Linked DNA regions of Homo sapiens: region 2 is linked to region 1. The links are contacts of gene promoters, found by promoter capture Hi-C in blood cells and fetal thymus (Javierre and others, 2016). All regions are on one chromosome and are shown on one strand. The core of a region is centred on a gene start or on the middle of the fragment in contact, and the rest is flanking DNA. Distances in the headings are between cores, read along the strand shown.

Region 1 (5,805 bases), core at 1,035-3,534:
CCCAGGAGCTTAGCCCTCACACTTAGGGTTGGGGACCTCTTTTGCAAAGTATTTCCACTCTAAACTTTAGGAGGACAAGAAACTACTCTGAGTAGCAGCTCCTGGGAGGACAGTCCCCTCATCTAGGAAGCCCACCCGACTGCTCAGACATTAGCCCTTTCTCTTCCTACTCTTTCTGAGTCCAGCTTGGGAGCACTAGCTCATGTCACCCATCCTGCCCATTTTGGCTTGCTGCAGCTACAGATGGGGATCACCAAACACAAGATGTTTCCTCAAAAGAGGTCTTGAAAATCTATGAAAATCTATCTTATTTGTGAGTTACTATGTTAAAGGATTCTGAATTCAGCAAATAAAAACAGCTTGAATGGGCAATAAAAATGTGTCTACACATGTGTTTCCTTATTGACTGTAACTTGTTGAAGATGCTTTTGCACTGGTGGCCCTATCAGGTTGATGTTCACGCAGGCTCCTCACAGTGGGTGCTTTGCAGAACCTACCATGCCAAGAGGGCCCAGCTGCTTTGGTGTGTTTTGGGGGGCCTCAGCACAAAACAACAAGGCATTTTCATACTTGTCTGGCTGCAGGGAGCCTCTTGCAGTCCAGCCAGCCCCTGTGGCTGGGGGTAGCCCTACCTTAGGGGTCCCTGCCTCAGTGGCAGTGGTACCTGTGGGCTGGGCTGTTATGCCTGTGCCGGCTGCTGAAAGGGAGTTCAGAGGTGGAGCTCAAGGAGCTCTGCAGGCATTTTGCCAAGCCTCTCCAGAGCAGAGGGAGCAACCTAGACTCCCCGCTAGAAAGACACCAGATTGGAGTCCTGGGAGGGGGAGTTGGGGTGGGCATTTGATGTATACTTGTCACCTGAATGAAGGAGCCAGAGAGGAAGGAGACGAAGATGAGATTGGCCTTCAAAGCTAGGGGTCTGGCAGGTGGAGGCACCAGTCTGAAAGGAGGAGCTGGGGCTGAGGAATTGTCAAGGGGGCCAGTGCTCCTTCAGTCTGGGCTTCATGGTGTCTGTGACAAGTCAGGCAGCAGTTGGGATGTGGCTCTGGAGTTCAGCAGGGGAGGGTAGACCAGGCAAGACCCAGGTTTTTAGTTAGAGGTTACTGGGGAAATAGCTGAAGACAGTTTCCGGTGGATAAAATCACACCAAGGCAATGGGAACAGATCCAAGTAAGGCGACCGAGGAGGCACAGGAGAACGGACAGCCTCAAATACAACGAATGATCAGGATTTACATCATACCTCCCTCAAGGCCACCTCACATCTGACCTCTCTGTGGAGGGGCTATCCAGGCCGCCCCTCCCAGCGGGTCTTCCCTCAGTACTGGGCTCACTGTGTAGGCGCTGTCTCCCTGTCAGACTGAGTTCCTGGGTACTGGACCACGTCTCAAAACCCAGTACCCGCAGCTGGGTCTGGCTAGGCGGACGTTCTGGGAAGTTCACCGGCTCTCCCTGTCCCCAGCGTCCCCCGTTCTCCCAGCCTGTCCGCGCTGACAGCGCACCCCACGCAGCATCCACGCTCCGAGTGTGCGACTGGTTTACGGGCTCATCGGTCGCTGCACCCCAGATGCAGAGTCTCTGGAGACCCGAGCTCCGTGCCATGCACAGGAAATGCAGGAAGCTGGCGACACCCGGGGAGAGGCGGCCGCGGGCGTGGACAGACCCGGTTACCTGGGGTTCAATCTCTGGGAGCCGAGGCACGGGAGGGAGAGAGGCGCAGGCCCCGGCGGCCGCAGGGGGCGGCAGAGACACGCGGAGCGGCTCGACAGCAGATGGCCGCAGCCCCGCGCAGTTCTGGGCCTTTCCCGTTGGGTTCACCGTCGGGGAAGGATCGCGCGCAGGGGACAGCGCGAGCCCGGGAGGGAAGGACCCGGCTTCTCCAGATGCTTGGCGACAAAGGGCAGGAGCGGAGGGTGGCGGAGTGAGACCGCGCTGCCCGCCGGCGCCACACGCGGCGCGCCCAGCCGCGCCCCTGAGCCGCGCCGCCAGCTTAGAGTGGGCCGCCTCTCCGCCCTGCAGCTCTGCAGCTGGGAGAGGCGCGCTGGGGTCCGACTCCACTGGCGCAACCTGACGCGGCGCCGAGCCAGACACGTCCCGGCCGAACGATGCCCGGGCTGCCCCGCGACCACCGCCTCGCCGCCCGCTCTTCACCCCCGTCCGCCCGCAGCCCCGCCGGCCTCCCGGGGGAAGCGGACCCAGCCGCCCGCTTCCCGCTCCCCCGCCCCCGCCGCGTACCTGAGGCTCCCGCCGAGACGCGCTCCTGGGCCGTCGCAGCCGCGCGGTGACATCAGAGCCCCGGGCTCTGACTCCGACCCCACCTCCAGGCTCCGGCCGCGGCCTCAGGGGAGGCGCCACGTCCGGCCGCGGGGGCGGGAGCCGCAGCCTCTTGGTAGCGTCCGCGCGCCGGCCCAGTCCCAGGTCTGAGGGTGGACAGTGCGTTCCCGCGCGGGCCACAGGCCTCTTGCCCCAGGCCGGAGAAACCTGAGCGAGGTGGTGGGAGGGCGACTACGGCGACCGCCCACCGGCCTCCAGCGCGTCCGTGATGCTCGGGGGCCGGGTCCCTCGGGGCCTGACACCTCCCTCGGTGGGGAGGTCCAGGGCGGGCCCTTAGGCGCCTGACGGCTACCCGCTTTCCCCCCCAAGCCCGGCCAAGAAAACAGAGCTGCCAGGGCCTCGTGCCTCCCACCTGTCCCGCTGAGTAACTCGGCCCTTGATCAACTCTACCCCCAGACCCCCATTTCCAAAACTCTTCCAGCTCTTTGACTCCCACCATGGGCTCTTGTCTCCTGTTCCCTGTCCCATTTCTTTCCATTTCTCCCACTACCCAGCATGGTCTGGGCCCTCCAGCCTGCTACCGGGGTGGGGGAGAGGGGGGCGGAGCACGGGGAAGCCCCTGGACTTGTGTGCACCTTAGCTGTCCTGAGTGTGTCCTTAGGGAGCTGGACATATGCATACCCACTAAGGCTGGACACTGGCGCTCGAGGCCCTCACCTTCCAGGATCTCCATTTTCCAAAGAACGCTCTGCCTGCACCTGCCACTGAGCTCTCCTTGCTGTGTCCTCAGGCTCCCCTGCCCCGACTTCCCAAACTCTGTCCTATGAATACCACTCTGCCAAGAAATGCTCCGTTCCTGAGAGGGGCTGGGGACCCTTTGATGAGCCTCTCCGGCTCTCAGGTCTCTGCCTTTGTCCTCCGCTGCCCTCCCGCTCCCACAGGATCAACAGGGCTGGGCTCAGGGGCTGTGTCCTCCCATGGTAGTATCCCTGGCAAATAAAGGTTTATTGGTGTTAATAACCAGGACTCTGAACTCTGGCCAAGAGTCAAGGTTGCCACTTCCTAGGGACACTGGGAGCCTGAGGAACTCTGTCTTCTTGGGTCTTCTTGGGTTCGGAGGCAGGAGACACCTGAGCCCGACTTCTGAGAGTGGTGCCCGCTGGGCCCTGCTCCTTCTTCAACACCATCTGGACTCAGGCACCAGCTTCAGCTGGAGCGCTAGGCTTTAAGACAGTGCCTAAGAACCTTTCGGCTTTGAAAGACTTTTGTTGTTTGTTTTGCTTTTTTGAGACAGAGTCTCCCTCTGTCGCCCAGGCTGGAGTGCAGTGGCCGGATCTCTGCTCACTGAAACCTGCGCCTCCCAGGTTCAAGCAATTTTCCCTGCCTCAGCCTCCCAAGTAGCTGGGATTACAGGCACCGGGCACCACGCCCAGCTAATTTTTGTATTTTTAGTAAAGACGGGGTTCGCCATGTTGGCCAGGCTGGTCTCAAACTCGTGACCTCAGGTGATCCACCCACCTTGGCCTCCCAAAGTGCTGGATTACAGGCATGAGCTACCGCACCCGGCCTGAAAGACTTTTAATATTTTTAAGACCCTGATCCACAGAGTCTCACAGCAGCATCAAAATAGAAGAAAGACAGCCCAGCAAACAACAACAAAAAATTTTTAATTGCTCATGTTGGCTGGGGCGGTGGCTCATGCCTGTAATCCCAGCACTTTGGGAGGCCAAGGTGGGCAGATTGCTTGAGCTCAGGAGTTCGAGACCAGCCTCGGCAACATGGCGAAGCCCTGTCTCTACAAAAATACAAAAAAAAATAGCTGGACGTGGTGGCACGCACCTGTAGTCCCAGCTACTTGGAAGGCCTAGGCACAAGAATCGCTTGAACCGAGGAGGCATAGGCTGCAGTCTGCCGAGATCACGCTACTTCATTCCAGCCTGGGCAACAGAGTGAGATTCTGTCTCAAAAAAAAAAAAAATGGTTATGTTTTTTACTTATATTTCTTGAAAACTATGGGGACACAGTGTCCAGAACAATTCTATTAACCCACTCCACCCACCTACCACTCACCTCTTGCACACACTACAGCACCTCTCTGCTAGGGACCATGAGGACGCAGTCCAGAGCGATTCTTATTAACCCACTCCACCCACCTACCACTCACCTCTTGCACACACTAAGCAACTCTCTGCTAGGGACCATGAGGATGCAGTCCAGAGCGATTCTTATTAACCCACTCCACCCACCTACCGCTCACCTCTTGCACACACTAAGCAACTCTCTGCCTAAGTCCCCAGAAAACTGAAATCCCACCTACCCACGTCTCTCTTAACCTCTTCTGTTCTGAGAAAGAGAAAAGTAACCCCTAACATCTGAAAGGCCCAGCTGGACCTTGGTGTTGCCAGAATTTGACCTGACATTCACAGCAAGGCCTTACTGTTGTCCCATTGGACATAAGCCATTTCACAGGGCATCAATGTGAGACAGGGCCGTTCTTTAACAATGATGGATCAAGACAAAAACAACAGCACTCTAATCATGTCTAACACATACAAAAGCATGAACATTGTCCAAGTCACAAAAATGACCTAGCTAATGAGTGCCTGCTGTCCTAGCTAATGTGAGTACCTGCTGCTTCTTTACCAATTGCAGCTTTAGCCTCACTCTAATCATTCCTCTTTCTAGATAAGATTTATTAATATACCCAATCATAGAATTACTCTTGCTTCTTGACAGCATCCAGCACAAAGGAAAGTTCTGCTTCTTTAACCCTCTTGAAAAGCACTAACCCAAACCCAGATCCTCTAAGTCCTTTCCAATGCTCTCTTCCTGAGATGCCACGTGGTTTCCCATGCTACGTGTCCTCTCTCACTTCAACAAGCAATGAACCCAACTTGTTCAACTACAGGTGTGCTCGTGGTGGTCTTTGGCTAGGGGGCACTGATACTTCCTATCTCATTATTACAAAAGCACAGAGAATCTTGGAGAAGAGAAGGGGGAAGAAACTGCCACAAAGCTGGAGTCTCCCTTAGTGATGGTGGTTGGGGGGTGAGTGTGCATGGAGAGGGTGGAAACATGCACATATGCTTCCAATACATAAAGAGAGGTGTCTGCACCCTTCAGTATCTCAATACTTTCTCAGGCCTGGGGGAGTTCTTTTGAAGAGACCCTTAGATGGCTGTGTTTAGCTGGGATTAGAGCCACAGACCTTGCTGTTCCTGGCCAGGCCCTATATCAAGGAGCTGATAGGTGGGGAGGTGGTGGGCCTCCACTCCACATAGTTTGGCACTTGTAATCTGAACTGATGACACCAAAGCAAAGCAACTGCCCACCTCACAAGTCCCTGTGGTTTCTTGCTTTGATGCCCACTCTCTTTGTTGGATATGGTTAATGTGATGTGACTATGAGTGGAATACTAAAGACCACTTCTTTAGTGCCAAGCACTGTGCTAAGTGCTCTATGTATCTTTTTAGCCCTCTTACTCCTCAGAAGTAGGTATCAGTATAACCCCATTTTACAAGTGAGAAAGCTGGGA
Region 2 (5,805 bases), core at 621-3,120, 440 kb before region 1:
GAGAAGACAGACAACAAACAAGTAAATAAAATGCTTAATATAGTTCAGACTGTGTTACCTTCTAGGAATACAAATGAAGGACAATGCCGAGTTAGTTTACATAGTCACAGATAGTGTCCCTGAACAGGGGGCAGTTCAGTAGAAATGTACATAAAGTGACAGAAAGCCCTGAAAAAGTCTAGGAGAACATTTTAGGAAGAAGAAATGGCAAAGGCAGCGACCCTGAGCAGGGGATGAGCCTGGCATGTTTGAGGAGGAGGGAGAAGGGGAGGGGCCAGACCACTGAGAGGGCCTCACAGAGCCTTAGCAGGATTTTATTTCTGAAACTATCTTAGTATCCCACAGATGGGTGGGAGGTAGCCATTTCCAATAATTTATAGAACAGTTCATGGGCCCTCATCTCTCCCTCTCCATCACTGTGCCCAGAGACTTCAGTGTACCTGTAGATTTGGGAGCCTCTGATGGTCACTTTTGGGCCCATCAGGCTGAGAACACTGCACGGGAACAGCTCCCCATGGGATGTGGCAGGAGGAGCCCAGAACTGATGTAGAGGCTCACAGCTGAGCTCAGAGTGACCTTCAGGTCACACATAGCTCTCCCATCAGCACAGCACAGAGAGATTAGAAGATCAACTTGAGATTCTGATGGCCTATGATTTTTTTGAGGTCTGAGTGGGAGGAAAGCATGAAATGAGTTAGAACTGAATTCTCCATTCATCTAAACATCATGAGTTAATTCCATAGTGCCTGCAGTGTGAGGTTCTGGGGTGACAGTTAATCCCTGACAGACATGTCTTTAATGACTTATAGACTGGGAAGCAGGTTGATTGGACTATTAAGGAGCTTACTCTGGTGGTCTCCAGGTTGAGGAAAGTGCATGTCCTTATAGCTGCAGGTCCCAGCCTCCTTTCAGCAATCAATTTGGAGGGAAATCTTGGCTATAGCCCCTTCCCCCACAATAGGAAGTGATAGAAACTGACTCCCCAAAAAATTTGGGAAGAAAGTATGTTTGTTTTGCTCTCAATAGCTGCATGCCATGGGTTGGTACCTACTCCTACCCTCTTTCCTTTGCTTCTCCAGACTTGTATTATTTGGCTACAGTCCTGGTGATGGTGGGCAAGTTTGGAGTCACGGCTGCCTTTTCCATGGTCTACGTGTACACAGCCGAGCTGTATCCCACAGTGGTGAGAAACATGGGTGTGGGAGTCAGCTCCACAGCATCCCGCCTGGGCAGCATCCTGTCTCCCTACTTCGTTTACCTTGGTAAGTCCCATGAGCCAAGGGCACACTAGAGCAACGGGATGGAAGTACTAACTGGCTTGAATGTGAGCTGGAGGTTGCGTGTTAACAGGAAAACAAGTTCATACAGTACATGGGCTCCATCCAGTACTGGATCTTTGGCCGGGAAGGGTTCTTGTCCCAGTGCACTGGCCCTCACTTTCAAATGGAAAACAACCTATAGATTACCTAGAAATTGATGAGAATATTAGAGGGTTTGTTTCTGTTTTAGCCATCCCAGGCCTTCCATCAGAGACTACAATTCCTTTATCCTAAGAACCTACAGAGTGGTTTAGGGAGCCAGTGTGCTTAGTTGGAGAAATTTCTTGGAATCAGAGTTTAAAAGGAACATGAGGGGAAAGATGTCCATGCAAGAGGTCTGATGAACGGAAAATTATTATAACCTAGAGCACTATAGAGTGATTTTATCTTGTGTGAAGATCCACCCCATGCCATTTTATGTAGCAGGTCTCCAGTTTTCTCTTCTCAGAATTATGTCTTCATAGCACCTGTGGTTTCCTGCACATCCCTAGCCAGTACCTCTTTAGGGAGGGTGGCACCCACCTGAGAGTACTCAGAGTGCTTTGTGAACATGCTATGTAGATCTCAAAGCAAGCAAAAGCACCCTGCCTAATCTGAAGGCAGATCACATGGGCTGGGACACATCTGCAGAGGTGGAAGAGTTATTTCCATCCCTGGACAAGTACCTCAGGTTCCTTGGAAACCCAACCTTGGTAAATAAGAATAATCAGCATGGCCCAGAAATAGGAATAATCAGCATGGCCCAGCTCTTCTACTGCAACCGCCCCTTTGTACTCCTCCCCTGCATGGTGGAACACTGCTGGGCTCTGGGCATGCCTGTGCCAGCTCTGGGTTCTGAAACCTGTCTAGATGCCAGATTCTAATCTGACTGCTCAGACTGTGAGAGATGTGAGACCAAGAAGGAAAGTGATCCCCTTCCAGAGTCCTGGGAGCATAAAGGGGTAGATGAGAGACCAAGTCTAACTGCAGCCCTGGGCCTGAGGCTCCGTCTGCTTTGCCATAGGTGCCTACGACCGCTTCCTGCCCTACATTCTCATGGGAAGTCTGACCATCCTGACAGCCATCCTCACCTTGTTTCTCCCAGAGAGCTTCGGTACCCCACTCCCAGACACCATTGACCAGATGCTAAGAGTCAAAGGGTAAGAAGACCTCCTCTGTCAGTGTTGATGCACTGGGTCTGGGTCTGGCCAGGTCTCAGGAGCCCCTCACAATAGAGCTACTCGCAAACTCCCTCTCACAGACACCATGGACTAGTTTAGCCATTAAAGGGTTGTAAATGGCAAGGTGCTTACTTATAGCCCATCCTCTCTGGTCTGTTCCTGTGTGGACATGTCACTATACACATCTCCATGGCAGTAGCCGCACTGGATAACTCAGAGGCTAGAAGAAACCTTTCAGAATCTGCTGCAGGATTCTCTTCCCAGGGAAGATATCCTCAGTTCTTGTTTGTTTGGAGACTGGGAGGCATCTTTTTAAAATGTGTTACTGACATATTTTTGCTTGTTTTTATAGAATGAAACACAGAAAAACTCCAAGTCACACAAGGATGTTAAAAGATGGTCAAGAAAGGCCCACAATCCTTAAAAGCACAGCCTTCTAACATCGCTTCCAGTAAGGGAGAAACTGAAGAGGAAAGACTGTCTTGCCAGAAATGGCCAGCTTGTGCAGACTCCGAGTCCTTCAGTGACAAAAGGCCTTTGCTGTTTGTCCTCTTGACCTGTGTCTGACTTGCTCCTGGATGGGCACCCACACTCAGAGGCTACATATGGCCCTAGAGCACCACCTTCCTCTAGGGACACTGGGGCTACCTACAGACAACTTCATCTAAGTCCTAACTATTACAATGATGGACTCAGCACCTCCAAAGCAGTTAATTTTTCACTAGAACCAGTGAGATCTGGAGGAATGTGAGAAGCATATGCTAAATGTACATTTTAATTTTAGACTACTTGAAAAGGCCCCTAATAAGGCTAGAGGTCTAAGTCCCCCACCCCTTTCCCCACTCCCCTCTAGTGGTGAACTTTAGAGGAAAAGGAAGTAATTGCACAAGGAGTTTGATTCTTACCTTTTCTCAGTTACAGAGGACATTAACTGGATCATTGCTTCCCCAGGGCAGGAGAGCGCAGAGCTAGGGAAAGTGAAAGGTAATGAAGATGGAGCAGAATGAGCAGATGCAGATCACCAGCAAAGTGCACTGATGTGTGAGCTCTTAAGACCACTCAGCATGACGACTGAGTAGACTTGTTTACATCTGATCAAAGCACTGGGCTTGTCCAGGCTCATAATAAATGCTCCATTGAATCTACTATTCTTGTTTTCCACTGCTGTGGAAACCTCCTTGCTACTATAGCGTCTTATGTATGGTTTAAAGGAAATTTATCAGGTGAGAGAGATGAGCAACGTTGTCTTTTCTCTCAAAGCTGTAATGTGGGTTTTGTTTTATTGTTTATTTGTTTGTTGTTGTATCCTTTTCTCCTTGTTATTTGCCCTTCAGAATGCACTTGGGAAAGGCTGGTTCCTTAGCCTCCTGGTTTGTGTCTTTTTTTTTTTTTTTTTAAAACAGAATCACTCTGGCAATTGTCTGCAGCTGCCACTGGTGCAAGGCCTTACCAGCCCTAGCCTCTAGCACTTCTCTAAGTGCCAAAAACAGTGTCATTGTGTGTGTTCCTTTCTTGATACTTAGTCATGGGAGGATATTACAAAAAAGAAATTTAAATTGTGTTCATAGTCTTTCAGAGTAGCTCACTTTAGTCCTGTAACTTTATTGGGTGATATTTTGTGTTCAGTGTAATTGTCTTCTCTTTGCTGATTATGTTACCATGGTACTCCTAAAGCATATGCCTCACCTGGTTAAAAAAGAACAAACATGTTTTTGTGAAAGCTACTGAAGTGCCTTGGGAAATGAGAAAGTTTTAATAAGTAAAATGATTTTTTAAATAACAGCAACTGCCTAGAATCTTTATTTCTAGAATTTAGTGAGCCTGTGCCACACTGTCATCTGCCTTTTCTCTGTATCAGCTTGGGCTAATTCTAGCAATGGTTGGGATTAATCTCTAAGACTAAGATTTGATTCTTGTGCACTAGAATTCTTCACTTTATTAATTGACTATGGGCTGAGCCAGCCTTCTTGCACAAATGTATCTTGGGTTCCCTTGAAAGTAGAGACTGAGACAAGTGCTTCTGTGCAGTTAAGCAGTTTATGCTTTGGGGACAAGATTCCAGGGAGCAGCAATAAAGGACAGGAGGAGAACAGGGAAGGAGGGAGGCTGAATACAAAGATGCATTTTCAGGTTGACTAGCACCAAAGGCAGGGATGCTCCATCCAGCAAGGACTTCAGAAGAAGCTTATGAAATGCATCTCAACACCATCTGTACCTTGAGTAAAAGGGGGAAGCATTTCTCTGTTGGCATCCATTTGTAAAGGCAGCCCACAGGTGTCAGCTCCACATGTTTCCAGGCTGCACATGCATGAGTCCCAAATAAGTTCTGTCCCGTGGGTAGAAAGCAAGAGAGAATACATTGCAGGGCTGAAGTAGGGGTTGCCAGAGCCCATCAGAACTGGTCACTGCAACAGTGGCTGGAGTAAGTGGTGGGCTGAGAGGATTGGGGGTTGAGTGTGGTGCACAAGAGGTGTCTTAATCTATATACAATTTGCACAGGGCATTTTGGGCTAGAAGGTGTGGATGGACCTGGGTAAAAAGCTCCAGTGTTGGATAGAAACTCAAGGGCATGTTGCATAACAAAACAAGCAGCATCAAACTTGGGGGAGAAGGAAGGCAGCACGTCTTCTGGAACACTGTTGGCTTCTCCACTCTCCTCAAACATGGTTCTGTGCTGGACTACTGATTAACTGTCTTCCCAGGGGCTCTAGAATCTGAATTGCAGTTCTGTCTACCCATTGTCCTGTAGCAGGAGTGAATAGTTTCTGCATTTTCTCTCTTATTCTCCATGCCACTGATTCCAGTCATTTGTGGCCTTCTGAGGGCAAAAACCATAATTACCTGAATGCTTAGAGCTCTTCATGTGGTGAGGCAAGAGCCCAAGTCACTTCCAGGGTTGAGCCAAGCATGTGGAATTCCAAGTCCTCTGTCTAAGCCTGTTGGATTCGTGTGTGGCTTGTTTCCCTTAGAGCCATGACTTTGGGAAGACTGAGTGTGTTATCAGACCAAGGATCTCCTCTGCTCCAGGAGAGAGGCATACACAAACTGTAGCCACAGGGGCAGAGTTGGTGAGTGATGAGGTGTTCAGTTAATGTGTATAACTAGAAACCAGCATACCCACAGAAATATAAAAGACAAAGAAAAGGAGGTGGAGGAACAACCCAGATTTTCTTAAAAACCAGTTTCCTGCCACAGATCAAAGTAAAGGCAAAGATTTGCCATACCATCTTTTCCTATTCTTGGAAACTAGTTCTTATCTCTGTCAGGGTTCCCTGAACATTCTCATGGATTCCATAAGGCTGTTGTTTGTCAAAGAGAATTATTCT

The links. Contacts are between HindIII fragments. The CHiCAGO score rates a contact against its expected background, and 5 or more counts as called.
Region 2: a fragment that was not itself captured here is called in contact with the fragment with the promoter of SHROOM1 in region 1 in 3 of 17 cell types (monocytes, fetal thymus and total B cells); the score reaches 8.8 in monocytes.

What each region holds. Positions count from the first base shown.
Region 1 is chr5:132,828,363-132,834,167 of GRCh38, forward strand. It overlaps SHROOM1 (shroom family member 1), which reads right to left and starts at 2,285. Exons shown (of 10, transcript NM_001172700.2): 1 at 2,232-2,285. RefSeq lists silencers at 1,654-1,963, 2,174-2,593. The HindIII fragment of the contact is 14,647 bases long and covers 1-5,805 here.
Region 2 is chr5:132,391,354-132,397,158 of GRCh38, forward strand. SLC22A5 (solute carrier family 22 member 5) reads left to right here. Exons shown (of 10, transcript NM_003060.4): 8 at 1,080-1,262; 9 at 2,323-2,458; 10 at 2,832-4,259. The coding sequence ends at 2,919. Among named protein-coding and RNA genes, the nearest start is that of CARINH, 17 kb to the right of the region's middle. The HindIII fragment of the contact is 5,582 bases long and covers 1-4,661 here.